Regions from separate parts of the Homo sapiens genome. Here regions 1, 2, 3, 4, 6 and 7 are each linked to region 5. The links are contacts of gene promoters, found by promoter capture Hi-C in blood cells and fetal thymus (Javierre and others, 2016). All regions are on one chromosome and are shown on one strand. The core of a region is centred on a gene start or on the middle of the fragment in contact, and the rest is flanking DNA. Distances in the headings are between cores, read along the strand shown. Region 1 overlaps ABCA4 (ATP binding cassette subfamily A member 4). Region 2 overlaps ARHGAP29-AS1 (ARHGAP29 antisense RNA 1). Region 3 overlaps ABCA4 (ATP binding cassette subfamily A member 4). Region 4 overlaps ABCA4 (ATP binding cassette subfamily A member 4). Region 5 holds the start of SLC44A3 (solute carrier family 44 member 3). Region 6 overlaps ABCA4 (ATP binding cassette subfamily A member 4). Region 7 has its middle 4.6 kb from the start of ARHGAP29-AS1.

Region 1 (4,008 bases), core at 1,346-3,845, 740 kb before region 5:
ACCAGGCCTCTTCCCTGGAAATTCTGAGCCAGTCGATCTGGGTTGATGCTTAAGAATCTGTTTTGTAAACAGACACATAGACCAATGGAACAGAACAGAGGCTTCAGAAATAGCACCACACATCTACAACCACCTGATCTTTGCCAAACCTGACACACACAAGCAATGGGGAAAGGATTCCCTATTTAATAAATGGTGTTGGGAAAACTGGCTAGCCATATGTAGAAAACTTAAACTGGATCCCTTCCTTACACCTTATACAAAAATTAACTCAAGCTGGATTAAAGACTTAAATGTAAAATCTAAAATCATGAAAACTAGAAGAAAGCCTAGGCAATACCACTCAGGACATACGCATGGGCAAAGACTTCATGACTAAAACACCAAAAGCAATTGCAACAAAAGCCAAAATTGAAAAATGGATCTAATTAGGCTAAAGAGCTTCTGCACAGCAAAAGAAACTATCATTAGCGTGAACAGGCAACCTGCAGAATGAGAGAAAATTTTTGTAATCTACCCATCTGACAAATGGGTATCTATCATCTCATGCCAGTCAGAATGGTGATTATTAAAATGTCAAGAAACAATAGATGCTGGTGAGGCTGTTGAGAAATAGGAAGGCTTTTACACTGTTGGTGGGAATGTAAATTAGTTCAACCATTGTGGAAGATAGTGTGATTCCTCAAGGATCTAGAACCAGAAATACAATTTGACCAGGCAATCCCATTACTGGGTATATAACCAAAGGAATATAAATCATTCTACTATAAAAATACATGCACATGTATGTTTACAATTGCAAAGACATGGAACCAATCCAAATGCCCATCAGTGATAGGCTGGATAAGGAAAATATGGTACATATACACCATAGAATACTATGCAGCCATAAAAAGGAATGAGATCATGTCCTTTGCAGGGACATGGAAGAAGCTGGAAGCCATCATCCTCAGCAAACTAACACAGGAACAGAAAACTAAACACCACATGTTCTCACTTGTAAGTGGAAGCTGAACAATGAGAACACATGGACACAGGGAGGGGAACATCACACACCGGAGCCTGTTGGGGTGGGGTAGGGGCGAGGCGAGGGAGAGCATTAGGACAAATAGCTAATGCATGTGGGGCTTAAAACCTAGATGATGGGTTGACAAGTGCAGCAAACCACCATGGCACACATATACCTATGTAACAAACCTACACATTCTGCACTTGTATCCCAGAACTTAAGGTAAAATAAAGAAAGAAAATCTAAAAATTAAAAAAAAAATCCTGTTTTATAAAATGCATTCAAGGTCATTCTTATCTTCAGACAAGTTGGTGATCGCTTAGTAGTTGCCTGCAGTTTGGTGCTGCTGTCATGACTGGCACCTTCTGAAAGGCCACTGGGGAGCCTCGGCTGCCACTTCCAGAGTTTGGAGAGCGAGGGTCACACACTCTGGAAAATTGTGGTGGCACCAGGGCAACAGAAAGTCCTCAAGAGCACCAGGTGACAGATAGAACGAGGCTTTTCTTCACTAGTTTGTTATCCTCAGGACTCACAAGTCTGAGACAAGAGGGCATGCTCCCGAGGGCCCTCGAGTTTATTCCCTCTCCTACTGCTCACAGAAGCCCCTACCTTCCAACAGTTCTAGATGACACAGACCCAGACCTGGCCCATGGGCAAGAGTGGTCCACCCTTAGATGGAGTCATTTACTGGGAGTATGAGGTTGAGAATTTGAAAATGACTGACATGTGCTCCCTGATTCTAAATAACTCCAGTTTAGCTGCCCAGCCAGAGATGGACATGTCAACAGCCAACTCTAATCTATCTGGGAGAGGGGTCTGAGAGAGGTGTGAAGAGAGGGCCAGGAAGCACAGAGGAGTGAATGACTAAACCTCCATCAAAGCAGAAGTGACATTTAAGAGCTGAGTGCTGAGTCTCAAAGAATGAATGAGTAGAAGCTCAGCAGATGAGGAAAGGGACAGTCATTTCAGGCATTGGTGGACATACACTTTTCTACCTTGTGTTTCTTCTTTTGGGGAAACATCTTCCTCCACTTCACAGTAATCCTGCTCATAGAAATGGCCCCATGGTGGGCAGCTGACCCAGGCCTCCCAATCAGAGTACACAGGGGTGGGTACAGGAGCCAGACCAACAGGGAAACTCTCTAGGAGCATTGCTTCTGCTATGGGAAAGGGATTTTTGGTGTATAGATGACTGCTAAGGGCTGTAAGCAGCTAGGGCATCAGCAGAGGAGAGGGCCTGGCCAGAGATGAAGCTGAGCAGAGGCGAGTAGAAAAGTGAGGTGGAAGGACACAGGGGTCTCATGGTGGCTTCCAACTCTTGGATCCTCCTGAACTTCATTATTTATGTCCACCAATAAATGCTTTCTTTTTGGTTAAGCAAAAAGCTTGTGACCAAAAGCGCTCTAATAAATGGGCAATGAAAACAGCATTTGCAAAGGGTAGAATCCCAAGAGGTCATGGAATGGGAATGCCTGTAGGCGTGAAAGGGCCAGGTAGCAGAGTTGAGCAAGGGCTGGGAAGGTGGGGTAGGACAGATTTGGAAGGGACCTGTGTTATTTGGGGGTCGAGTCATTAAGATTTTAAGTGAGAGAGCAACGTAAGCAGGTGTGCGGAATGTAACTCTGGTGCCAGTGTAGAGAAATGCCTGGGCCAACAGAGGCTGGACCCTGGATTCCAGGAAGGAAGCCCTTGGAATGGGCTGGCGCAGAGATGACAAGGCCTCTAGTCCTCAGAGAGCCTGGAATGCAAGAGGCAGAGTTGAGAGATATTTAGGAGGGAGAGGAGACAAAGCTTGGTAAGAGAAATCAGAAAGGCAGGCTCTGAACTCAGGCACCCCCAGAGCTGGATCCTGTTCGCTCCTCTTAATGGTCATGCGTGGGATCTTATTTAACCTCTTTAAGCCCTGGCTTCTCATCTGCAAATTGGCAATGATAATGGTGCAAGCCTCATGGAGCTGTGAGAATTAAATGAAGCATATGTGTGTAAAAGCAGTTGGCACAGTACTTGGCATAAAGTAACACTCAGTAAGTGACAGCTACTGTGTGGAGGGTGAAGAAGGAAAATTAGGGATGACCCTGAAATCCCTCACTTGAGAATTCGGGCAAATGCTGAGGACGTTAATTAGGATAGGAAATATAGGAGAAGGATATGTTCTATGGGCAAGGAGAACATACAGTTTTTGGAGGGGACATGTTGAGGCTGATGTGCTTGTAGAACTTGAGGGCAGGAGTGTCCAGCAAGCAATGGACTGTGGGGTTGAGGGGACACTGGCCATAGATGGCCACTCAAGCAATGTCAGACAGAAGAGGGTTGAGGACAGACACAGATGCTTAAAGGGGGCTACAGGAGGAGGTGCCCAGCATGAGAAGTAGGAGATGTGAAGAGGAAACCGTTTTCAGCATAGATAAGTTTTAAGTATGGATAAGCTGTTAGAGAATGAGAACTGTACAGGGGATGTAGGGATTCTTGTTTCTTCAGTGGGGAAAATGAAAGCTTAAATTCAAGACCACTTGACTTGCTAAGGGAGCTCTGGCCCCACTCATGGGGCTATCTTCAAGGGGCCCACTGTGGGGCTTGCAGCCCCTTACCTCCAGGTATTGATTGACCAGGCGGAGGGTGCGATCAGTGATGTTAAATATGTCCCTCCAGTCGAAGTTGGCCATGTCGTCAGCCTGGCTTTCCCGAGGGCCCTTGTAGAGGAAGTTTAGGATGGCTTCAGCAGTAATACCTTCTTCACCAAGCTGCCTATTCAAAAAGTCTTTTACTGTTGGGTTCCCCAGGGTATCCTTGGGAAGAAGAAATACAGTCACTGCTCTGCTTAGAAATTCCATAGGATCTTTGGTCTTGTTCTTCAGCCATTTCTAATTTTTAGTGATTGAGGATAGAGATGCTAAGGCTCCCTGAAGAGCTGGTGAGCTTGTTCCACTATGAAACATACCTATCTATATCCCATTTCCCCAAGTCCATGGGTCTCTAGAATAGAGGGAAGATGTGTAGGG
Region 2 (4,009 bases), core at 373-2,872, 560 kb before region 5:
TTTAATGTGGACAATAAATTCCAAATTTTTAAAATTGTCCAGGCCAAATAAAAATCATGAGAGGTGGAATCTGGCCTGAGAGCTGCCAGTCTGTCATCTGTAAGTTAGAAACTCTAGCTGATACCACAGTGTTCTTTGCCTTCCCTCTTTGGAGACCTTAGCTCTCATGGGCTGTTGAGAGAGGGTCTTAGGGGGCTCCCACAGGGGAAAGCCTTCTGCTTTAGGCAGTTCCAGTGGTAATCAGGGAAGGGTCCAGGAGACAACAGGCCTGATAGGGGCAGTTTAGGCCAGTTGTTCAAGGCCTTAGTAATGATTATAACTAGCGCTTCCTATGTAGTAAGGTCTTACATAGATTATCTTATTTACTCTTCACAATCACCTATAAGGAAGATATTATGATCTCCATTGCTCTAACGAGGAAATTGAGACTTAAAGAGACTAATTAATATGAACAAGTTCACCCAGCTAGTAAGTGGCAAAACCAGGGATCTGAACTCATGTCAGACTTGACTCAAAAAACCCACATCTTTATCCTCTGTGTCTGCTGCTTCCCACTGTAGAGAGATCAAGTTTTTCTTTCCCTTGTGGTGTTTTTCATTTGGGTGAGTCATTTTTGAGCTCTTGTCACCATGGAAAATCATAAAGTCTTGACTCTGAGTCTGCAAGAAGATATTTTCTTGCTTTCATTCAGGTATGTAGAACACAGGCCAAGTGGTTCAGCCCAAATCTCTAGAACAAGGGTGGGTGGGGACAGGCAGTGGGGTTTAGGGCCAAATTCCCAAGTAGTCATAAGGAGTGTTCTTTTACTAGGTGTCTGTCCCTTTTGCCTAGATTCCTTGGAACTCTGCCAGTGATGGGCAGCTGGTCAAAGATTTGAGATTTCACAATTCCAGTCATCTCTGTGACCTGTATCCATTTTAGAAATACAAGTAATGAATATACCTCATCCAACAGAGACTAGGAAAAGCATAGAATTTTTGTTCTAGTATTAATTTGACCAAAGATTGGACATGTTGTAGTGGATCAAATAATGTCCCCATAAAATGCATGTCTTCCCAGAACTTTAGGATGTAAGCTTGTTTGGAAATAGGGTCTTTGCAGATATAATTAGTTCTAATGAGGTCATAGTGGATTAGGGTGGGACTTAATCCAGTGACTGTTGTCCGTACAAGAAGAGAAAACAGAGACACAAGGGGAAGATACCTGTATAAAGGAAGAGGTAGAAATTGGAGCAATGTACCTGTAAGCCGAGGAACACCAAGGATTGCCGGCAACCATCAGAAACTAGGGAGAAGCAACGAGGGATTCATCTCTAGGGACTACAGAGGCAGCATGGGCCTGCCTTGCCTCCAGAACTGTGAGAGAATCCATTTCTGTTGTTTTAAGTGATGCAAGTTTGTGGTAGTTTGTTAAAGCAGCCACAGGAAACTAATACACATGATAAAGAAAAAAATTTAAATACTAAAATGCCCTTTCAAGATGGAACAGGAATCTGTGTTGGAAGTTTAAATTTCAAAGCTCCCAAGTCAAAAGTTCAGAGAGCATTTTCTGACTCACTGTTGGCCGAAGAATGAACTTTTCAGAGAGGAAAAGTGTCCTCCCTGCATAATGCAAAAGTCTCTACGGAGTTTCTGTAGAGGACCAGAGGCATTCCATGTGTTGATTCAAAATGGCTTAGTTCTGATCTAATCTTGAGCAAGACTTGCTTGTGTTTAGGAAGTCCATCTACCAATGTCTACCACCATTTGCCACGTCATCACAAGCCTAAAATCTGTTATGCCTGGGATGAGCCATGGACATTCGAGTGTGCATTATATGGTAGCCTTTTCCCATTTTCTGCCATGTTTGCCCTGTCTATCTGAGGGGCTTCTGGCTCAGTTTCCCTTTTGAGACTACGATTCTGACAACCAAACCAGCTTTCGTTTCTCTAAAGACAGATCCCTTCCTTTCTCTTACCCCCAGAGGGGCCCTGCCTCAAATCTGATGGACTCTCTGCATTGCAGAGGGATTTCTTACACTTTCAATTTTGGAATGCCCATAGCAACTCTGAAGAAAGCTGGTCACAAGCTCCTATATCCCATCCTCAGCTGATTCAATCAAATTTGGGTATCTGGTCCAAGAGCAGCTCGTCTGTAGGCCTGTCAGTGTTCTATGGAGTAATCTGGCAAGGAAGCTTTACTTAATGAAGGAAAGAATAATCAATAGCACTAATAGGACCTTCTGTCTTGGAGAGTTTAAATAGAATGCTTTGTAGGGGTATGGGGGACTTGCTGTTGGTAGTAGGTAGAGAGATTGGAAAGACACACAGAAAAAGAAACCATGTGATAGCAGGCGCCATTAGTGAGCTGAGGCCATGAGACAAAGAAAAATGAAGGAAGTTGGCTGGTAGTGGCAGGAATAGTCAAACAGAGACAAGAACAGCTGCATCATCATAAAAGTGGCAGAGCATTAAGGCAGCTGATGCTGGTGTCTGAGGGCCCACAGGATAACTCAAACTGCATTGTGTTCTAAAGCAGCTTCTATCTTATAAATTATGTTCTGGTCTCTGTGAGGCATAGCTGTGCAGCTGTTGAGTGTTTCCTGACTTCCTTACAACCTCCTGTGTATCCCTGCAATGCCACCTTCCTAATTCTGCACCCCCATTAACTAAGGTAAATGTGTCTCTGTTCTTGAAACATTAAAAAACCAGGCCATGAAACCACCATCTCCACTACCGAATTCCATCAGATTGGACTTTTTGGAAACTATCCAGAGATTCTGAATGTACACTCTCCTCTTAGACATCAACACTTGGAAAGTCCCTTACTATTGCTTGGCCAGACCTTCTTACCTCAGCTCTGTAGCTTCCCCTTTTCCAGTTCACCTGCTGCAGAAGCTCAGACATGCTTTATAAATCAAGGCACATAGGTTATTATAACACTGATCTCATTTAATGTAATTTCATCTCCATAATTGAACATAATGAAGTAATAAACACTTATTTGTGTTTACTATCACAAGTTTGGGTCTCATTTGGCTTTACTGTGTTATGCGTGCAGGTCAAGTGTAGCTACATCTCAACAAAATTAAGACGATTTTGTAGTTTAGAAGTAAGGTTAAGATTTGGAGTCTTGAAATGATCCTATGCCTAGAAAACTCCATAGTCTTGACCTGAACGCTCCTTAAGCTGATAAATAATTTCAGCTGTCTCAGGATACAAAATCAACATACAAAAATTACTAGCATTTCTATTCGCCAACAACAGTCAAGCTGAGAACCAAATCAGGAACGCAATTCCATTCACAATTGCCACAAAAATAATAAAATACCTAAGAATACAGCTAACAAGGGAGGTGAAAGTTCTCTACAAGGAGAACTACAAAACACTGCTCAAAGAAATCAGAGATGACACAGACAAATGGAAAAACATCTCATGCTCATGGATAAGAAGAATCAAAATCATTAAAAAGGCCATATTGCCTAAAGTGATTTATAGATTCAATGCTATTCTTATCAAACTACTGATAATGTTCTTCACAACTAGAAAAAGCTATTTTAAACTTCGTATGGAACCATAAAATGAGCCTGAATAAGCAAGGCAATCCTAAGCAAAAAGAAGAATGCTGGAGGCATCACACTAGCCAACTTCAAACTATACTACAGGGCTGCAGAAACCAAAACAGCATGGAACTGTTACAAAAACAGACACATAGACCAATGGAACAAACAGATTGCTGAGAAAAAAGGCCACACACCTACAACCATCTGATCTTTGACAAAGCAAGCTGACAAAAACAAGCAATGAGGAAAGGACTCCCTAGTAAATAAATGGTTCTGGGATAACTGGCTAGCCATATGCAGAAGATTGAAACTGGACCCCTTCCTTATACCATATACAAAAATCAACTAAGGATGGATTAAAGACTTAAATGTAAAACTCAAAACTATGAAAACCCTGGAAGACAACGTAGGCAATACCATTCTAGATATAGGAGAGGGAAAAGATTTCATGACGAAGATGACAAAAGCT
Region 3 (3,398 bases), core at 1-2,500, 810 kb before region 5:
CTTCCACCACCATGGCAAACAGGTTCTTCCCAATCAGGTCCCAGTGGAACGGATTTGCAGAGTGCTCCTCACCTGGGCATCAACAGGAATTGAGTCCACTTCAGCCGCCCCAGCTCACCCCACAGACCTGGCCACAGCACAGGGCCCACTAGACCAGGCCTTATGTGGGAACTGAGCAAGAGCCAAACACCCGCCTCATAAGGGCTGCCCTCCATCCCTCCTGTGGCTCCCCAGCCATGGAAACAGAGGCACCCTAATCCTCTCCAGCTGGCAGGACACCTCCAGCCCAACAAGGTCCCCTCCTAGCACCAGCCCCTGCCACAGTCTGATGCAGGAGCCCCCCCGGTAACCCTCCCAGCTTTGGACCCAGGGCCCATGCTCCATGGGCCTCGGCTACCACCCACCAAACCGGGCATAGACATCTGTCACAGCCTGGCTCAGTGCAAGGTCAATGAGGCCCCGGCCCAGGCAGAAGTGGGGGAAGACAATGAGCAGCTTCCTCAGCACGGCGTTGAACCTGAGCAGCGTCTGAAACAGAGAAGTAGGACTGTTGGAAACGGGGCAAACCCCACCCCCCCTCTCTTCAGCAGGTGGGGCCCAGATGCTCTCACAGGACAGCACAGGGCAAGGCCTGCAGACAGAGAGTCCTTGCAGCCAGACTGGCCACTGGAGGGATTTGTCCAGCAGAGCATCATGGGTTTGCAATGGAGGTCATGAAGTACTTACAAGCAGTGCCTCAAGGCCAGGCCAAGGAGCTAATCAATTAAATGACCAATCAAGGACTGGGGCTCCCTGCAAGTTTCTAGTGGGCGGGAGCTTCCCCTTTGTCTAGCCAGGCAGCATCTTCTAAACATTTACTATGCTCAGTACCATGTGGGCACCGAGGCTAACTGTGAGGAACCTGCATTACTGTCCTTACCCCTCCCCTAGGTGACTCTGGGGGTGACAGCAGGAATGTGCAGAGAAGCTGCAGCCCTCCTGCTGTCCACTTAGGGAGCTCTCCCTGCAGACTCACTTTGAAACAACAGGAGCCCTCAAGGCATTTGTTAACACCAGGCCCTGAGCCATCTCCAGCTCTGCTTTTCAGCCCCTCACAGGGCAACTACCATTGTCTAGGGAGAGGAGGGTTGGAGACTCTCTCTGGGGTCTGTGTTAAGCCAGGGACTTGTTTTCAAGTGGTCGGACTTGGCATGTTGGGCAGAGCCTCCCCTGAGAAAATAGAAGGGACATCGAGGCGTACGAGGCCAGCATAGCTCCTGGCTGGGCCACTGCTGTCCATTCCATCTGGCTCCTCCCAGTCCCACAACCTCCTCCCTCTCCAGCCTCCACACCTGCGCCCACATTACCTCATCCTTCCCTGCCTACCCTTTCTCCCCACTCTTTCTGGAATCACTGTGCTCTTTGGCCTCTAGGCCTGGGCATGTGCAGGCTGTTACCTATTGCTCCAAGCAGGAAAGAATGCTCTTTTCCCTTCTGCTTTCTTAAAGATTCCTGTTCTTCTTTAGACAGCTGGCTCAGAGAGTGCCTTCCCTTACAAGCCTTCCAAGATTCCCATGAGAAAGTATCCATTCCTCTCTCCCAGCACTTATCACATTCCCATGATTAATTTTTTAAAAATCTGCCTACTTTCTCTACTAGTCAGTGGGCCCCTGGAGGGTGGGCACTGAGTCCTAATTATTTTTTTGTCCTTCCTAAATACCTGCACAATGATTAGCTCAGAGTAGGCACTTCATTATTTATTAAATGGGCTAATAGAAATCTACAGGCTGAAATTGAACTTCCTCCACCACGGCTCCCCCAGCCCCTGCAGCCTGGCTCTTCCCGCTGCCTCTGGCCTGCAGCATGTTATCTGCCTCGCTCCTCTGCTGCTCTGTCACACGCTGTATTATGGAGGATCATACACTGTGGCTTATATCGTTGCAAACTTCGTGGGCAGGTCCTTTTCCGACTGGAACGGGAGCCTCTGGAGGGCAGGACGAGTGGGCCACGCTTGTTTATATCAGCACACACCCGGCACGTGGTGTTCAGCTGGTAAAGACCTCCTGATCTCACACGGGCCGGCAGCTGCTGGGAGCTGGGGAGCTTCCTGTGGGATACTGGGGGTTTCCATAGCAGCTGTGTATCGGATAATTTACATGAAAATACCAGGTTTTTGAAGGCGGGTGCTTAGCAAATGTTGGCTAAATGGGTGCAGCCTCAGAGGGGAAAATGTTCTGAGTTGCTTTAAGCTGGCTATTTAATTATTCTGAAGGAAAACTGTCTTAAGACTTAGTGGGCTGTGAGCCTGTGGCAAACACAGCTCTGCAAAGCAGCACTTTCAGTCACCTGGGTGCTCTGGCCATCTGCTGGGGCTGTGTTCTTATCCCCCCGCCTTTCCAGAGTCTGACTCTGACATGCTGAATTTCTTATCATTCATGGGACAGATGAGGCTTCGTTACTTGCCTAGCAGCCACGAAACCCTAACAAGATCTGGAAAGAGTCAGTCTCAGGGGTCCACGGGTCTGGGCGGTTCATGGTGGGGCCTCCGCACAGATTTGTCCTGTGTTCCCCAGTGGGGCCCAGAGGCAGGTGGAGGTGGGTGTGGCAGGGCAGCAGTGCAGATGTGCTGGCCGGTCCCACCCTCTGAACTGGGAAGAGCTAATGAGGAGAGGAAAGGTTGAGGCGCCTGGGGACACAGGCACGTGGTGAGGCAAATGTTCCAAGGACAGCCACAGCCAGGACTCAGACACAGCGGTGGGGACTGGGAGTGTGGAGTGTGGAGTAAAGACAGCCCTGCAGCGACTGCCTTCTTTTTTTCCCCCTCTTTTTATGATTCAGTTTGGCCATCTGTCTCTGGACAGGGGGAGGTCAGGTGGAAGGGACAACTGGGCTTGGCAGCTCATAAAAGTGAGGCATTCAGCATGGAGAACACCCAGTCTCTTCATCAAGATTAACTTGCCCAAGGAATAGTATATGTCAGAGTGTTACAATTTCCATAAGAAAGCGGGAGAAAGACCGTATAGGGATCTGCTGATGTGTCTCCAGAGCACACAGGAAACTCAAGTAAGAGTTTGCCTCTGGAGAAGAGAACTGCATGAGTGGGAAACAGGGGTAGGAAGGAGATTTTTTCATTGTATGCCTTTTTGTTCCTTTTAGATTTTGAAATTACCCAAATGTATTGATGTGTGTGTGTGTAAAACCCAACACCCAAAGTCCCTGAGAAAACCTTTCTGAAAGAGTAAGCAAAGCTTAAAGTTTATTGCAAGAATCAAGTTTTGCTTGCAGAATAAACACAGAAAACCATTTCATTCAGAGCACAGAAATGAAAAAGGTGCTTATAGGAAGGAAAGAAGGAAGAAAGAAGGAAGGATGGAGGGAGGGATGGAGGGAGGATGAAAGGAAAAAGGGAGAGAGGGCAG
Region 4 (2,700 bases), core at 201-2,700, 790 kb before region 5:
GCATTGCTTATAATGGTGAAAACTAAAAAACCTAAGTGGCGAATAATGGGAGATCAGTTAATTTAAAGTAACTTTAGGCCAGGAGCAGTGGCTGACGCTTGTAATCCTAGCACTCTGGTAGGCAGAAGTGGGTAGATCACTTGAGGCCAGGAGTTCAACACCAGCCTGGCCAACATGGTAAAACCCCATCTGTACTAAAACTACCAAAAAAATTAGGCGGGCATGATGGTGCATGCCTGTAATCCCCACTACTCGGGGGGGCTGAGGCACAAGAATTGAACCTGGGAGGCAGAGGTTGCAGTGAGCCGAGATCACACCGCTGCACTCCAACCTGGGTGACAGAGAGAGACTCTGTCTCAAAAAAAAAAAAAAAAAAAAAAAAGAAATTCAAACAATGGGATAATATACAGATATTAAAAGTGATGCAGATGTCTATTTATTGACATGGATGCATGTTCCTAGTAAATTATGCAGTAAATCAGATTTTAAGACAATATTTGGAATATAATCTGTTTGGGTGGCTGCAAACCAAACATTATCTGTGTTTATATCCAAGCGATGATTTTTTTTCCTTCTGACTTACCTGTGTTTTCTAATTTTTCTATAATGAGCACATATGACTTAATTTTTTTTAGTGCTTAAACACATTTTTTCTACTAGATCAAATAGGAAGTATCTGGTGGAAAATGAAGCTTTTGGTGAGTGGCTTCCTCCAGTTGGCAGCCACAGCGCCCTGTGGGGAGCCCCTCCCAGAGGGTGCAGGGAGTTTGGTTTAGTCCCCTACTCAACTGCCAGTTTGAAATGTTAGTTTGTGAGAGACTCAGGAGATACCAGGGACTCCCCTAGTCCCTCTGTGGCAGGCAGACCTGGGGCCCCGTTGTTTGGAGGTCAGGTACCTGGGGGGGCGGGAGGCCCCCGGCACCCTCGGGGCACTCTGGCAGCATGGTGAGCTTCTCCCTGGTGCTGCACCTGCAGGATGGTGAAGGGTTGACCTGTGTCCATTTCTGCTTCTGGAACAGCTGGGTGATGTTTGGGGACACAGAAGGAGTCTTCCAGGGTGTTGAGTTGCCACAGGGGTACTCCCTCATGGAAGACAAGAAAATATTCCATAATCAGCCTCAAAGTTGCTGACAAATCCCTAGGCATAAGAAATTGTGCCCAACCCTTTCCTCCTCCTCTTTAGACCCAGGCCCTTTCTTCTTATTCTCTTGGAGGCTGGTTTCTGCTCAAGCAATATCAAAACTAGGGTTTTGTGACTGACTAGGTGTGGGGCTGGGGAATAACCATCTCTAGCTTGTGGATCGTTTTGTCTCCCTTTTTATTCCTAGCAGCTCTAGCTGTTGAGAGACACAGCAACCAGAAGAGGAATTTGAAATTAGTCTGTTTTGGTCCTTATTGACAGCTTTGAAAAAGACTGAGGGAGAAAAGTTAAAATTATATTGAACTTTTAGGATTCCTGGTGGATGTCAATGGCCTTCGCTAACTCCCTTCTCCAGACTCACAACTATCACAAAGTACTGGCCACTGTGTCACTCACGCCATTCAAGGCCCAATCACACAATAGCATAACCCTATTTCCCTCCCTCCCTGCTCAGAGGCCTTTCAAATAAGTTATGGGGAATCATCTGTCAACTCAACATAGAACTTCTATGCTGAGAAATATAGAGCTGTCCAGTGGTGTGGGGGCTTCCTAGGAGGTAGTGAATGTCCCTGCACACAAGTGTGGAAGGAGAGGTTGGGGGAGTGCTGGTCAGAGACATGGAAGTGACCAGCAGAGCAGGATTGAGTGGGGCCTCCCCAACGCCTGCCATCTTGAACCCACCGTTGGGTCCTCCCAGGGGAGCTAGTCTTCTTAGGACAGGGGCGCGTAGGCACTTACGGAAGCCACCCTTCCTTCAGGCAGCGGTTGCCAAAGCCTGGCTTATTCAGGAGGACGTCTGCAAGTACCGTGAACTGCTCACTGCCTGGTTCATCCATGCTAGACAGAGTGAGACATGTGACTGGGACAGAGCAGGCGCGTGCCAACATCATGCAACTCAGAGCCTTTACTGGATAGCTGCTGTGTGCCAGGTATGTATTGGAGGCACCGAATGCTGCCTTGGGATGGCGCTAGCTCTCCTGGGAGTGCGGTAGGCTGCCTGAACACTCGCAGTGGTCTGATGGCATGTCACCTATGCCTCAAAAAGATGGCGCTTCAACCCATTCACCTAAGCTTTGCATTCCTTTCCCCATTCGGCCTTCCCAAGCAGTCCTGCCTGTCCACTAGGATCGCCTTTCCAAGCAGTGGCAGATACATTAAGTTCCTTTCTGCAGGCAGCCCAAAGACCCCTCCCCTCTCTCATTGGTGAAGGTCCCAGTGAAGTGGGAAGGTCAGGGCCCTTCTAAGCAGCATGTGACCCAGGTGCCCCAAACCCACAGAGGAGAATGGTGACCCCGAGTCCGCGCACCTGAAGAAGGTGTACTGCTGCCCATATATCCAGGGGTGAAGGGTCAAAGCGGGGTATTCGCCAAAAGGAGGGATAACAATAGAAAGCATCAGAGCCAAAAACACAAAGGTAGCCGGGAGCACGATCTGTGGGAGAATAGACGTGGAATAAACATGACTGTGGCATGGAGATGTCACACGTGCGCGTGCACACACATCTTCATTCTTTTAAACATTTATCCTGCAGCCTCCTAATCAGCCCCTGGTGGAGAGGG
Region 5 (4,007 bases), core at 1,465-3,964:
TCTTCCACTGCTTTAAAAGTTACATGTTTTATTCTTTTTTAACGGTAGTTACCCTTAAGACCTACATTCACAAATATTTATCCCTATTGATTTATTAAAGTTAACAATTTTTTTCGTCTTCCTCCCATATGATAGTAATTTAACCCAGTACTACTCTAAGTACTCTAAGTAGTACTGGGTTACTTATCTCATCCATTCCAGAATGAGATTTGAGCCCACATGTAAATCAACACACAGCTTCCTTCATTGAGAAAGTCTTGCTACGAAAGTGTCAGCTGAATCAAAGAGTTTGCTTATGACATAGCTGATATGCATTCTGGTACAAGCTCCTTATCTCTTAGAGAACAATTAAGTTTTGTGAACCACCCTTTGAATGGCACTATTTTAGATCACTGTCCTATCATTTTGGCCTCTCATTCCTGAGTCCCACACCCCTCACAATATTGATATTGTCTATAATTTTAGGTCTGAATCATTATAAATACACTGTTCTTTGTTTTTAGACTTTTGAAAAGAGTTTTTGTAAGTCAGGTTTAATGAAATACAGTTTACATACAATAAAATTCACCTTTTCTAGTGTACAGTTCTACAAATTTTGACAAACAGATACCACTGGGTCATCAGTACCATTCTCAAGATAATGGAATATTTCCATCACTTCAGAAAGTTTCTCCAGATTCCCTTCACCCCCAGCACCTGACAACCATTGATCTATTTTCTGCCTTTTCCAGAATGTCACATAAATGGAATCATAGAGTAGCTTATTATATCTGACTTTTTTTCACTTAACATGCATTTGAGATCATCCATGTTTTTGCATATGTAAGAAGTCTGTTCCTTCTTAATGCTTAGTTGTATTTCATCGTATAGATGCATCACAGTTATGTATAGCCACCCACCAGTTCCTGGACACTTGGGTGGTTCCTGGTCTTTTTTCTAACACAACAATAAATTCAGCCTAAATATTTGGCCACTCTCATGCTATATCTATTGTATCATCTCCTGAATTTGTTTCTCTTCTTGCTTGATTATGTCCTCCAAGAATGTCATTCAAATGAATCTTTCATAAGAATATTTTTATTATTAATACATTCTCACATTCTAATGACAATATGGCTTAATAGAAAATAAGTTCAAAGTTATGCTTTTAAATACTTACATATAGAAACATTTTGCTTGAGATAAACCTTTTCAATCTGAAGGTTTTTTTCTACCTTGAAATTTATCTCCATTATATCTTCAAATATTTCCCCTTCTCTGTTTTTATATTTCTTCCTTTCTGTTCTAGTTTTACCCTAGATATAAGCTAGAAAATTTACAAATAAGCTAACTTGTTTTTTAAAACATTTTCTACTGCCTCTGGAGGTTTGCTGAAAGTGCTCTTCCAATTACTAATTCATCGTCAGCTGCATCTTTTAGACTATTGCACATTACTAATACGTAGCATCAATATTCATTCTAATTATTATTTTTATGCTTAATATGTTTTAGTTTCATATTTTTTCCTGATTCATATTGCTAATATCATAACTCATTTTAAATAAATTTATCATGCTTATTTAAAAATCTTGGTCCATCTGCTCTACTGATCAGTTTCAGATGGCATATGTTATTCAGTTGTGGTCTTTTAACAGTAGTTGCACTCCTCCAGTGTCTAATTCTTTGTCCTATGAATTCATGTTCCCCTGGGGTTTCACCTACTCTGTCTGATAAACATGCATCCAGGAAGGCCCAGTGAGTTTGCAGTGGGAGGGTGGTGTGAGCCCAGAAGGAAATCGCTGGCACCAGAGAACCACTGTCTATCATTCCCAGTTTCTCCCACTTACCCAGATCTTTCCTCCAGTCAGGTTTCTACCCTTAGGGAGAAGCAGCACCTAAAGGAAGCAATTAACCTAGCAACCCTAAGGGTGGCAGGGGGAAGGGTAGAGGCTTGATTGAGAGGAGGTGGGGGGAGGTCGGCCTGCAGTTTTTTTTGTTTTTCGTTTTTTAAATTCCTCACCCCAACAGTGCTTTTGCGCTGGTCTGACACTACCTGGAAAACTATGCCACCAGTCGCTTCAGTGGACACTACCATTTCAATTGCGAAGTCAGGCAATGATTGTCCTAAGGCAAGGTGGGAGAGAAGTCAGAGTAAACCACCTCGAGAGCGCCGGTCTCCCGGAGTGTCTGGGTTCGACTCCTGCCTCCACAACTTACTGGGTCTCCTCGAACAAGTTGCATCACCAATGGCCGTGCCTCAGTTTCCCTCCTCCGTAGATTAGGAATAACAATAGCAGTGAGAACAGAATCCAGCACACAGTAAATGCTGCTTACCTGTTTGCTATGTGGAATACGCCACTACACTGTTGCTCGGCCCTCAGGAAGGGTCTGCTGAGACTTTCTACTTCCTGCTCAGGGCAGAGGCCGACCACCCGCCCAAGGTCGTGGCGGCGCCGGCTCAGCTTTAGTCGTCAAAGTGCACATCCTGGGAGCCGCTGCCTCGAGGTGGTTGAGGCGAGAGGGCAGGGAAGCGTCTGAGCCTCTTCCTCCCACCAGAGCAGGACCCCAGCTGACAGCGGGTGAGCTGGGCAGAAACCCATGCCGGGAAGAGGCGGACCCAGTGGACCGCAGCGCCCGCAGTCGCCGGGCCAGGCGCAGAGGCGAACGGGAGGCGGCGCTGCACCGTGCCCGCCCCTCCCCGGCCCGGCCCCGGCTCCAGCCCCAGCCCCAGCCCCAGCCCCGGCCCCGGCCCCGGCTCGCGGGCGCTGCGTCTCCGCGTACAGGAGGCGGCGGCGGCTCCCAGTCACCGGCCCCCGCCGGCGAGCGCACGATGCACTGCCTGGGCGCCGAGTACCTGGTAAGCGCTCGCAGCCTCGGCCCTCGGGGGAGGAGCCCCGGGGAAGGGTCGAGTCCCCCGCCTTCACGCACCTTCCCTGCCGGACGCTTCCGCCTTTCCCGCGCCTCGGGGATCCCGCCCCCGCTTAGTACCTTGGGGCCACCTGGCGGGGAGGAACCTGGACCCTGCTCCAGTGCTGGGGCGGAGGCGGGGGAGACGCGGGCCGCGGGGCGCAAACTTGGGGTCGTCCTCAGGTGCACCTCCAGGTAAGCACTTGGCGGCAGGGGGCTTAACATCCGCTCCGCGCAGAGCAGGTGTTTCAAAGGCTGTGTGAAAGAGCTTCAGGTGGCCACGTAAAAAAATAATATTAATTTTAAAAATTTAGAAAAAGATTGGTTACTTTGGCCCCTCTTCGAGTAGATTTGGGTTCGGTTTCCAGGTTGAGTCCACCTGTTTATCTTCTTTTTCTCAACTCTCCCTTTTTCTGGAAGGTTTCTGCAGAAGGAGCCCCTAGGCAAAGGGAGTGGCGACCCCAGATTTATAGGAAATGCACAGATACGGCATGGTTATTCCTGTTCTTTCTCTTTTGGACTGGTTTGGTAAGTGTGGGTGCTTGGTAGGAAAGAGGCCAGAGTGTGTGTGCACGTCTGGAAATAACTCTGTCCCAAATGTAAATCGTAGTTGGTGCTGCAGTGAGAGACTTCTGCCGTTAACCCACAATAAACATCAGTTTGTACTCGGGAGAATTCTTGTCCTAGACTCGCTAGAAAGGCTGTCTTTTTGCTACAGGCCATGTTCTAAGGGGTGACTCCATTAGGAAATGGGAATTAACAGTTTGCAATGTGATTGCTATTTAGTAAGGCCAATGTGTCTCCTTTTACTCTCCGAACTTACTGAACAGAAGTTCTTTTAGCACCTGCCACACCCCCAAATCAAATATTCCTCAAGCTTTTGGTGCACCTTTAACAAAGGAAAAGCCAGGGTAAGCCTAGAAATAAACTGCATTTCCTTTAGCTGAACATCACACACACACGCGCGCGAGAGATATGTTGTGTTTAGCAGCCAACACTGTTAACCATAGCTAACAAGGAATGATTTTTCCCACTCTAATTTCGAGGTATGTATGATTGCTGGTAAACTCCATCAGGCTATGCGGTTATAATCCTGAGAGAGTCTGTTGGAAGCCGAATCT
Region 6 (3,214 bases), core at 498-2,997, 770 kb before region 5:
TGTAGCTCTAAGCATTTCTTTCCCTAGGGGGAAAAAGTCCACTGTTTCTTCTATCCGTGCCTCCTGGCCTTGCCTGCAACTGAGGTGGAACCAGTCCCCAGCCTCCTGATTTGGCTTAGACTTTCCACTGTGGGAGGAGGATCTTGCCAGAGGCATGGTGTACTGCAGTCTAACTCTGGGAGGGGCTGCAGGTCTCTGGCTTTAGTTTTATGAAATGGCCCCTGGGGTGGGCTGGAGGGATAAAGGCCAGACCCTCTCCTGCCCTGTCAGGCAGAGCCCAGGGGCTGTGCTGCCTGTCTAAACCCAGAGCATTTTGGCCACAGAGAAATGCGTATGCTTAGGGAATGAAAAGCCTTGGGAGAAATACAGAACTAGTTTAAGAGAGAAGATGAGGGCAGCAAAAGCCAGGAAAACAAAACTTGTAAATCTGGGTCGTCAGTTTAGGGATTATTAGGTAACTTCCACTGTCAGGAAAGGCTTCTGATGGTTTCAATGAATGGCCTTCTAGATTTGTAAGCCGTAAGTGAAGTGTAGTCAGCTCCCCTGGAGTCTCTTTCCCCCTGGACACAGAAGCATTTATTTTTGTCTTTCCTTATAGCTCATATCCGCTTTAAGTCCCAGTGACCAAAGTTATTGTTCTTGCTAAATCCTCGGAAGTCAGCACATTTGTGCAACTCACTTGGGATTTGCCTAACAAGGGCACAGGCACACTACATAGTTGGTATTTGCTTTCTCCAGGAAATATGCGCTAATGTCTGGGCTGAACCATTCATTCCACACACATGCAGATGGACCTCTGAGAAGGGATCTGGTTTAACACTTGTCCACAGAGAGAGTCAGTTTCCTAGGCTTCTTTCCACCCTTGCCATGAGATGTTTTGCTCTGGCCCTCTGCAGTGCTTAGAGCCTTTTCCTCGCCTCTGCTGTGTATTCTTTATCGGGGTTTTACCGTGTATTCCTTCTGGGTGCTCTGGATCCTCCGTTTCCTCTGTTAGGGGCTCGGTCTTTTCCAGGGCTCTTTCTTCTCTGGTTGAACACCCTGCACCAATCAGAAGCCAGTGTTACTCTACCACCGGGAGCTGAGAACGAGCAAAGGCAGGAAAGGAGGGGAGAGGTACAGGGAGCAAATGAGTTTCCTAGCCAGCCTTTGACCTGCTCTAGGACTGTGAGGTACTCAAGCCTGATCACACAATCTTTGCCAGAGGAAGATTTATAACAGGAGCTTCAGACTTGGAGAGTTTCACCTCCTCCTCTCAATGTGCCATGAGGAGCCCACAGTTTCAGAAACTGTGATTTTAAAAAAATTAAGAAAACCAGGTTTGAATTTGAAATGAGTTAATTTTCTTTAGCCCACCACTGGCACATTTTACTCCAATACAAAACATGTGAAAGTCATGGTGAACCTTGAGTAAAAGTCTATTCAGGGGCCGGATGTGGTGGCTCACGCCTGTAATCCCAGCACTTTGGGAGGCCAATGTAGGCGTATCATGAGGTCAGGAGTTCGAGACCAGTCTGACCAACATGGTGAAACCCCGTATCTACTAAAAATACAAAAATTAGCCGGGTGGGGTGGCGCTCACCTGTAATCCCAGCTACTTAGGAGGCTGAGGCAGGAGAATCGCTTGAACCCGGGAGGCGGAGGTTGCAGTGAGCCGAGATAGTGCCACTGCACTCCAGCCTGGCCGACAGAGTGAGACTCTGTCTCAAAAAACAAAAACAAAAACAAAGTCTATTCAAAGTGCTATGACGGGCAGCCAGCTTAAACTACAGCTTGAATATATGGTTTACCTGAGAAATTCACCTAGATGGGCATTTAAGTATCTTGGAATTAACACCAGGGTTGAGCCTGGTGATGGTATTAATACAAGCCTGGACAAATTGTGAAGTGTGGTATAAACACACGCATTGAACACACACACACACACACACACAAACAGACACTTTTTGGCAAACTTGGCATTTGGTTTAAAAAGATATCAGGACATCCTGGAAGGGGAAGAGGAGCAGAAGGGCCAGTCAGTCTGCCAGAGAGGAAGGCAGGGGCAGGAGGAAACCACTGTCACCAGGCATCCAAGGGCTCTCGGCCTCAAGTGCACATACAGGAGCAGGGCGAGATTTCTCAATGCAACAGCCACCCAGGGCCCCTCTGTCCCCCACCCTCTGAAAATGTGCAGGATGTGTGCTGGAGCAGCAGGTAGTGGGCCTGCTGGTCAGGGACCTGCTGCCTCTAGTACTGTTCTTCTATTTCTGCTTCCTGAAGGACTTTTGAATCTATGCCCCACAGTTCCTTTGATCACTTTACTAGCTATCAAACTGCACAAATAGGTAATGAAATAGCAAGAGGAAACATCCTCCTGAAGAGTTTAATCACTGGAATGAGTTCCTGCCAGGCAATGCATGTGCATGTTCCAGATTTTGTCCCAGGTGACCAATAGGGGAAGATACTGGATGTCTCCTGGGCTCCATTTTTTATTTTTTAATCTGTGAAAGGAGGGAGGTTGGGTGGAGACACTCAGCTCTTTTCTGGTTTTAGAGAGTTTTAGAAATCCATTTCAGTCCAGCCTATGAGACAGGTGAAAAATATTTGCCTTCCGTTGGCAAACATATTTGTGATTCACTTTTGAAGGAGCATATTTTCCTTATGATTTCTTTTTTTCTTAAGAGGCAGAGTATCTGTTGGGATTGTAGAGAAAAATAAAATGCCCACAAGCCCTGTGTTGAAATTTTTCATTTATTATATGATAATTTTATTATAGTAAAAAATTAACAAGTTTACAGGTAGACAAGTCAATACAATGAAAAAATCCTGAGCTGTTAAAGTGTTGTTTGTTTGACCCAGTGAAAACAAAAGCAAAAAACAAAAGAAAAAAAGAAAAAAAAAGACTAATCCCCCAGAGAAAACAAACATCCATCTCAGTGCTTGCAGGATAAGTCCTGGCCCAGGCCCAATAATACAAAGTAAAGAATAGGTAGGTGAGCAACAAACAGATGGGAGAGTACTTCAGCTCTAGGGGAGTCCCCCGCTTTCACCCTGGAATTTCTTTGCTTTCTCAGACCTCACAAAAGAGTCTGTGCTTTTCCCTGCTTCTAGAACTTTCTCTAGCTAGGCCTCCTGTTTGGTTCAGTAGTAAAGGTGCCTTTTACCTAAGATGTGTTGTGGGCAAATGCCCTTTCAGCCTTTTTCCCCACCCCTAAGAAAGATCAACACCAGGAGA
Region 7 (3,649 bases), core at 287-2,786, 580 kb before region 5:
CCCCATTTCTACTAAAAATACAAAAAATTAGCCGGGCGTGGTGGCGTGCACATGTAATCCCAGCTACTCGGGAGGCTAAGGCAGTAGAATCGCTTGAACCTGGGAGGTAGAGGTTGCAGTGAGCCAAGATCACACCACTGCACTCCAGCTTGGGCAACAAGAGCAAAACTCCGTCTCAAAAAATAGTAATTTTATATATAATTATATATATATCTTATATATATAATTATATATGATATATATAATTTATATATGTAATTATATATGATATATAATTTATATATAATATATATTTATATATATATATATAAAATCAAATGGAGGAATAAATAAAAACAGACATACTCTTCCCTGTAGTAAACAACTAGAAAAATGGACAAAATATATATTGTTTTCAGACACCGAACTACACACCGCACTGGGCTCAGGGCTGTCATCTCTGAGAGATGGGATCATAAACAAATGAGGTAAGCCCCACAATTACCCCAACTTTCTGCCTAAAGTCACATTCTTGACCATAGCACCCTTGACAACTTGAAGAGACAGAGATCATGGTTCCAGGAGATTGGAGTTGCCAGAATCTGTAGGACAGAGTACCAGAGACTAAGGATGTAGAAAAAGAAAGAGCTCCAGAAATTTGCATAGGGAATTTCTTAATTATCTTGCTGAACACCAAGATGCACATGTATACAGCAAAACACAACAAGGATTGGCAAATAATTTCCAGAAAGCTATAGATGGACGATTCCCAGGTTTCCCACAGGGCTGGAAGAACTCCACATTTTCATCAGCCAGAGTAGAGAGACCTACTGAACACCCCAGGGAGACCCCAGGGCATGCCTCATAGTACATCTAACCTAGCTTTAGTGAAAACTATACTCTAGCCACACCCCAACAAAGCTTCAAAACAGGCACATTTTATAATTTTTTTAAAAGCTGATGTTTAAAACAAAGTAGTAACAATATGTTGTGGCATTTATAACATATACAGAAGCAAAATCTATGACAATAGCGTAAAGGAGGAGGAAATGAAAGTATACAGTAAGGTTCTTACATTATAGGTAAAGTAGTGTAATACTATTTGAAGGTATACTGTAAGTTAAAAATATATACTAAAATCTCCAGAGATAAAGTTAATTAAGCCAATAGTGGGCATAAATAGAATTTCAAAAAATCAAAAAAAAAAAAAAGGCAGGACAAGAAGAAAAAGGAAACAACAAATGGAACAAATAAAAAAACAAACAGCAAAGTAACAGACTTAAACCCAATCATACCAATAATTACATTAAATATAAATAATATAAACAGCCCAATAAAAAGGCAGAGATTCTCAGAGTGAGTAAAAAAGTAAGACCCAACTATATTTTTCCTATTAAAACACAGACTTGAAATATAATGACACAGATACATGGAAAGTAAAACAACAGAAAAAGACACACCATGCAAATATTAATCATAAGAAAGCCAAAGTAGCTCTATAATATAGGTATCAAAGAATTTTACCAAGGATAAAAAGCAACATTTCATAATGATAAGTGAGTCATTTCATCATAATGACAACAATCCTGAAGGTATCTGTACCAAAAATAGAGGTCCAGAGTATGAGAAAAAAACTGAGAGAAATGTATGGAAAAAATAGACAAATCCCCAATGACAGTTAAGATTTCAGCACTCTTCTCTCAGTAATTGATAGAATAACAGAAAATCATTAAGGATCATTAAGGACATAGAATACTTGAATAGCACTATCAATCAACTTGACCTGATAGACATTTACAGAAAATTCCACCAAAAAACAGCAGAATATGCATTCATTTCAAATGTATATGGAATATTCATAAGATAGGCCATATATGGGATAAAAAGAAGTCCCAATGAACTTAAGAGGACTGAAATCACACAGTGTATGTCCTCTGATCAAAACAAAATTAAATTTGAAACTAGTAACAGAAAGATAGTCAGGAAATCCCCAAATATTTGTAAATTATAAAATATAACTTTAAAATAACCAATGGGTCAAATTTCCACAAGGGAAATTTTAATATATTTTGAACTGAATGAAAATGAAAACCCATTTCAAAATGTGGAGATTACAAAGTAAAAGTCATGGTTAGATAAAATACACAGTTTTAGATGCTTTATTGTAAAAGAGAAGGGTCTAAAGTCAATATCTAAGCTTCCACTTTAAGAAGCTAGAAAACAAAGAGCAAATTATACCCAAAGTAAGCAGAAGGAAGTAAATAATGATAAGAACAGAAATCAGTGATTTAGAAAACAGAAAACAGAAAAAAATCAATATAACCAAAAGCTGGTTCTTTGAAAAGATTAAATTGATAAATATCTAGCTAGGCTGATCGAGAAATAGAGAAAACACAAATCACTAATATGAATGGAAGAAACGACATCAGTACAGACCCTACAGACACAAGGATAAAAGGATACAAGGGAATGTTACAAAAAACTTTGCCAATAAACTTAACAACTCAGATGAAATGGAAAAATTCTTTGAAAGACACAGATTACTAACCCTGACACAAGAAACAGAAAATGTTAATAGCACTACATGTATTAAATAACTGAATTCATTATTTAAAATTTCCCACAAAGAAAACTACATCTACATGAGCTTCACTGATAAAATTCACTGAACCAGATAAAATAATCCTATACAAACTCTTGGAAAATACAGGAGACAAGAACACTTCCCAACTCATTCTATGAGGCCAGCATTACCCTGATACCAAAACCAGACAAAGACATTACCAAAAAAAAAAACCACACACAAAAAAAACAAAAACACACACAAAAAACAAATTTCTTAACACAGTATTAGCAAGTCAAATCCAACAATATATAAAAAGGATAATACATAATGCCCAAGAAGGGTCTGTCCAAGGAATGCAAGCTTAGTTTAACATTCACTAGAAAAAAACCATGTGATCATCTCAAAAGATGCAGAAAAAGCATCTGACAAAATTCCATGGCCATTCATGATTAAAACAGTCAACAACGTAGGAATAGAAGATAATTTCTTCTATCTGATAAAGGGCATCTACAAAAAAAACCGACAGGTTTTCTCCTTAAGATCAGGATTAATATTGTTACTGAGGGTCTTAGCCAGTACAGTAAGACAAGAGAAAGAAATAAAATGCATTCACATTTAAAAAGAAAGAAGTAAAATACTCAGAGATGGTGGGTTGGGGACTTAAAAAAAAATCTTAAGAAGCCTATAAGCTACTACATCTAATAAATGAATATAGCAAGGTCACAGAATACAAAGTTAATACACTATAATCAATTTTATTTCTATACACTAACAACAAACAATTGAACAAAAAAATTTAAAACTTCTGCTCTTTGAGAGACAGTGTTGAAATAAAACACAAGCCACAAATTGGGAGAAAATATCTGACAAAGAATTTGTAACCAAATATATCAGGAACTCTTACAATTCAATAAAAATAAAACAACAATCCAATAAAATAATGAGTAATGAAGTGAACATATGCTGCACAAAAGAAGATACACAACTGGGCAATAAGCACATGAAATATTGCTCAATACCATTAGTATCAGGGAAATGCAAATTTCAACTTCTATGAGATACCACTGAATAGTCAGAAGAAATTTTAATTTCAGCTAGACTGAA

Evidence for each region. The method cuts DNA at HindIII sites, captures the fragments that hold promoters and counts their contacts. A CHiCAGO score of 5 or more calls a contact.
Region 1: a fragment that was not itself captured here is called in contact with the fragment with the promoter of SLC44A3 in region 5 in 1 of 17 cell types (fetal thymus); the score reaches 5.2 in fetal thymus.
Region 2: a fragment that was not itself captured here is called in contact with the fragment with the promoter of SLC44A3 in region 5 in 1 of 17 cell types (fetal thymus); the score reaches 5.0 in fetal thymus.
Region 3: a fragment that was not itself captured here is called in contact with the fragment with the promoter of SLC44A3 in region 5 in 2 of 17 cell types (fetal thymus and total B cells); the score reaches 6.9 in fetal thymus.
Region 4: a fragment that was not itself captured here is called in contact with the fragment with the promoter of SLC44A3 in region 5 in 3 of 17 cell types (fetal thymus, total CD4 T cells and total B cells); the score reaches 7.4 in fetal thymus.
Region 6: a fragment that was not itself captured here is called in contact with the fragment with the promoter of SLC44A3 in region 5 in 8 of 17 cell types (naive B cells, erythroblasts, monocytes and 5 more); the score reaches 10.8 in naive B cells.
Region 7: a fragment that was not itself captured here is called in contact with the fragment with the promoter of SLC44A3 in region 5 in 1 of 17 cell types (fetal thymus); the score reaches 5.1 in fetal thymus.

Annotation. Positions count from the first base shown.
Region 1 is chr1:94,074,093-94,078,100 of GRCh38, forward strand. It overlaps ABCA4 (ATP binding cassette subfamily A member 4), which reads right to left. Exons shown (of 50, transcript NM_000350.3): 11 at 3,598-3,795. The region is part of intron 1 of LOC124904222 (a long non-coding RNA gene); the gene reads left to right. Among named protein-coding and RNA genes, the nearest start is that of ABCA4, 45 kb to the right of the region's middle. The HindIII fragment of the contact is 406 bases long and covers 2,393-2,798 here.
Region 2 is chr1:94,258,370-94,262,378 of GRCh38, forward strand. All of the region lies in intron 2 of ARHGAP29-AS1 (ARHGAP29 antisense RNA 1), which reads left to right. It also overlaps a transcript of ARHGAP29 not described here. Among named protein-coding and RNA genes, the nearest start is that of ARHGAP29-AS1, 13 kb to the left of the region's middle. The HindIII fragment of the contact is 1,098 bases long and covers 1,074-2,171 here.
Region 3 is chr1:94,010,858-94,014,255 of GRCh38, forward strand. It overlaps ABCA4 (ATP binding cassette subfamily A member 4), which reads right to left. Exons shown (of 50, transcript NM_000350.3): 39 at 405-528; 40 at 1-72. Among named protein-coding and RNA genes, the nearest start is that of GCLM, 100 kb to the left of the region's middle. RefSeq lists an enhancer at 454-953. The HindIII fragment of the contact is 3,950 bases long and covers 1-3,225 here.
Region 4 is chr1:94,028,549-94,031,248 of GRCh38, forward strand. ABCA4 (ATP binding cassette subfamily A member 4) reads right to left here. Exons shown (of 50, transcript NM_000350.3): 28 at 2,448-2,572; 29 at 1,880-1,978; 30 at 897-1,083. Among named protein-coding and RNA genes, the nearest start is that of ABCA4, 91 kb to the right of the region's middle. The HindIII fragment of the contact is 1,520 bases long and covers 691-2,210 here.
Region 5 is chr1:94,817,643-94,821,649 of GRCh38, forward strand. It overlaps SLC44A3 (solute carrier family 44 member 3), which reads left to right and starts at 2,715. Exons shown (of 15, transcript NM_001114106.3): 1 at 2,715-2,836; 2 at 3,307-3,414. The coding sequence starts at 2,810. It overlaps SLC44A3-AS1 (SLC44A3 antisense RNA 1), which reads right to left and starts at 2,590. Exons shown (of 6, transcript NR_160780.1): 1 at 2,314-2,590. RefSeq lists a silencer at 2,719-2,908. The HindIII fragment of the contact is 9,215 bases long and covers 1-3,761 here.
Region 6 is chr1:94,047,920-94,051,133 of GRCh38, forward strand. It overlaps ABCA4 (ATP binding cassette subfamily A member 4), which reads right to left. Exons shown (of 50, transcript NM_000350.3): 18 at 949-1,038. Among named protein-coding and RNA genes, the nearest start is that of ABCA4, 72 kb to the right of the region's middle. The HindIII fragment of the contact is 5,773 bases long and covers 1-3,214 here.
Region 7 is chr1:94,241,441-94,245,089 of GRCh38, forward strand. It overlaps a transcript of ARHGAP29 not described here. Among named protein-coding and RNA genes, the nearest start is that of ARHGAP29-AS1, 4.6 kb to the right of the region's middle. The HindIII fragment of the contact is 1,276 bases long and covers 899-2,174 here.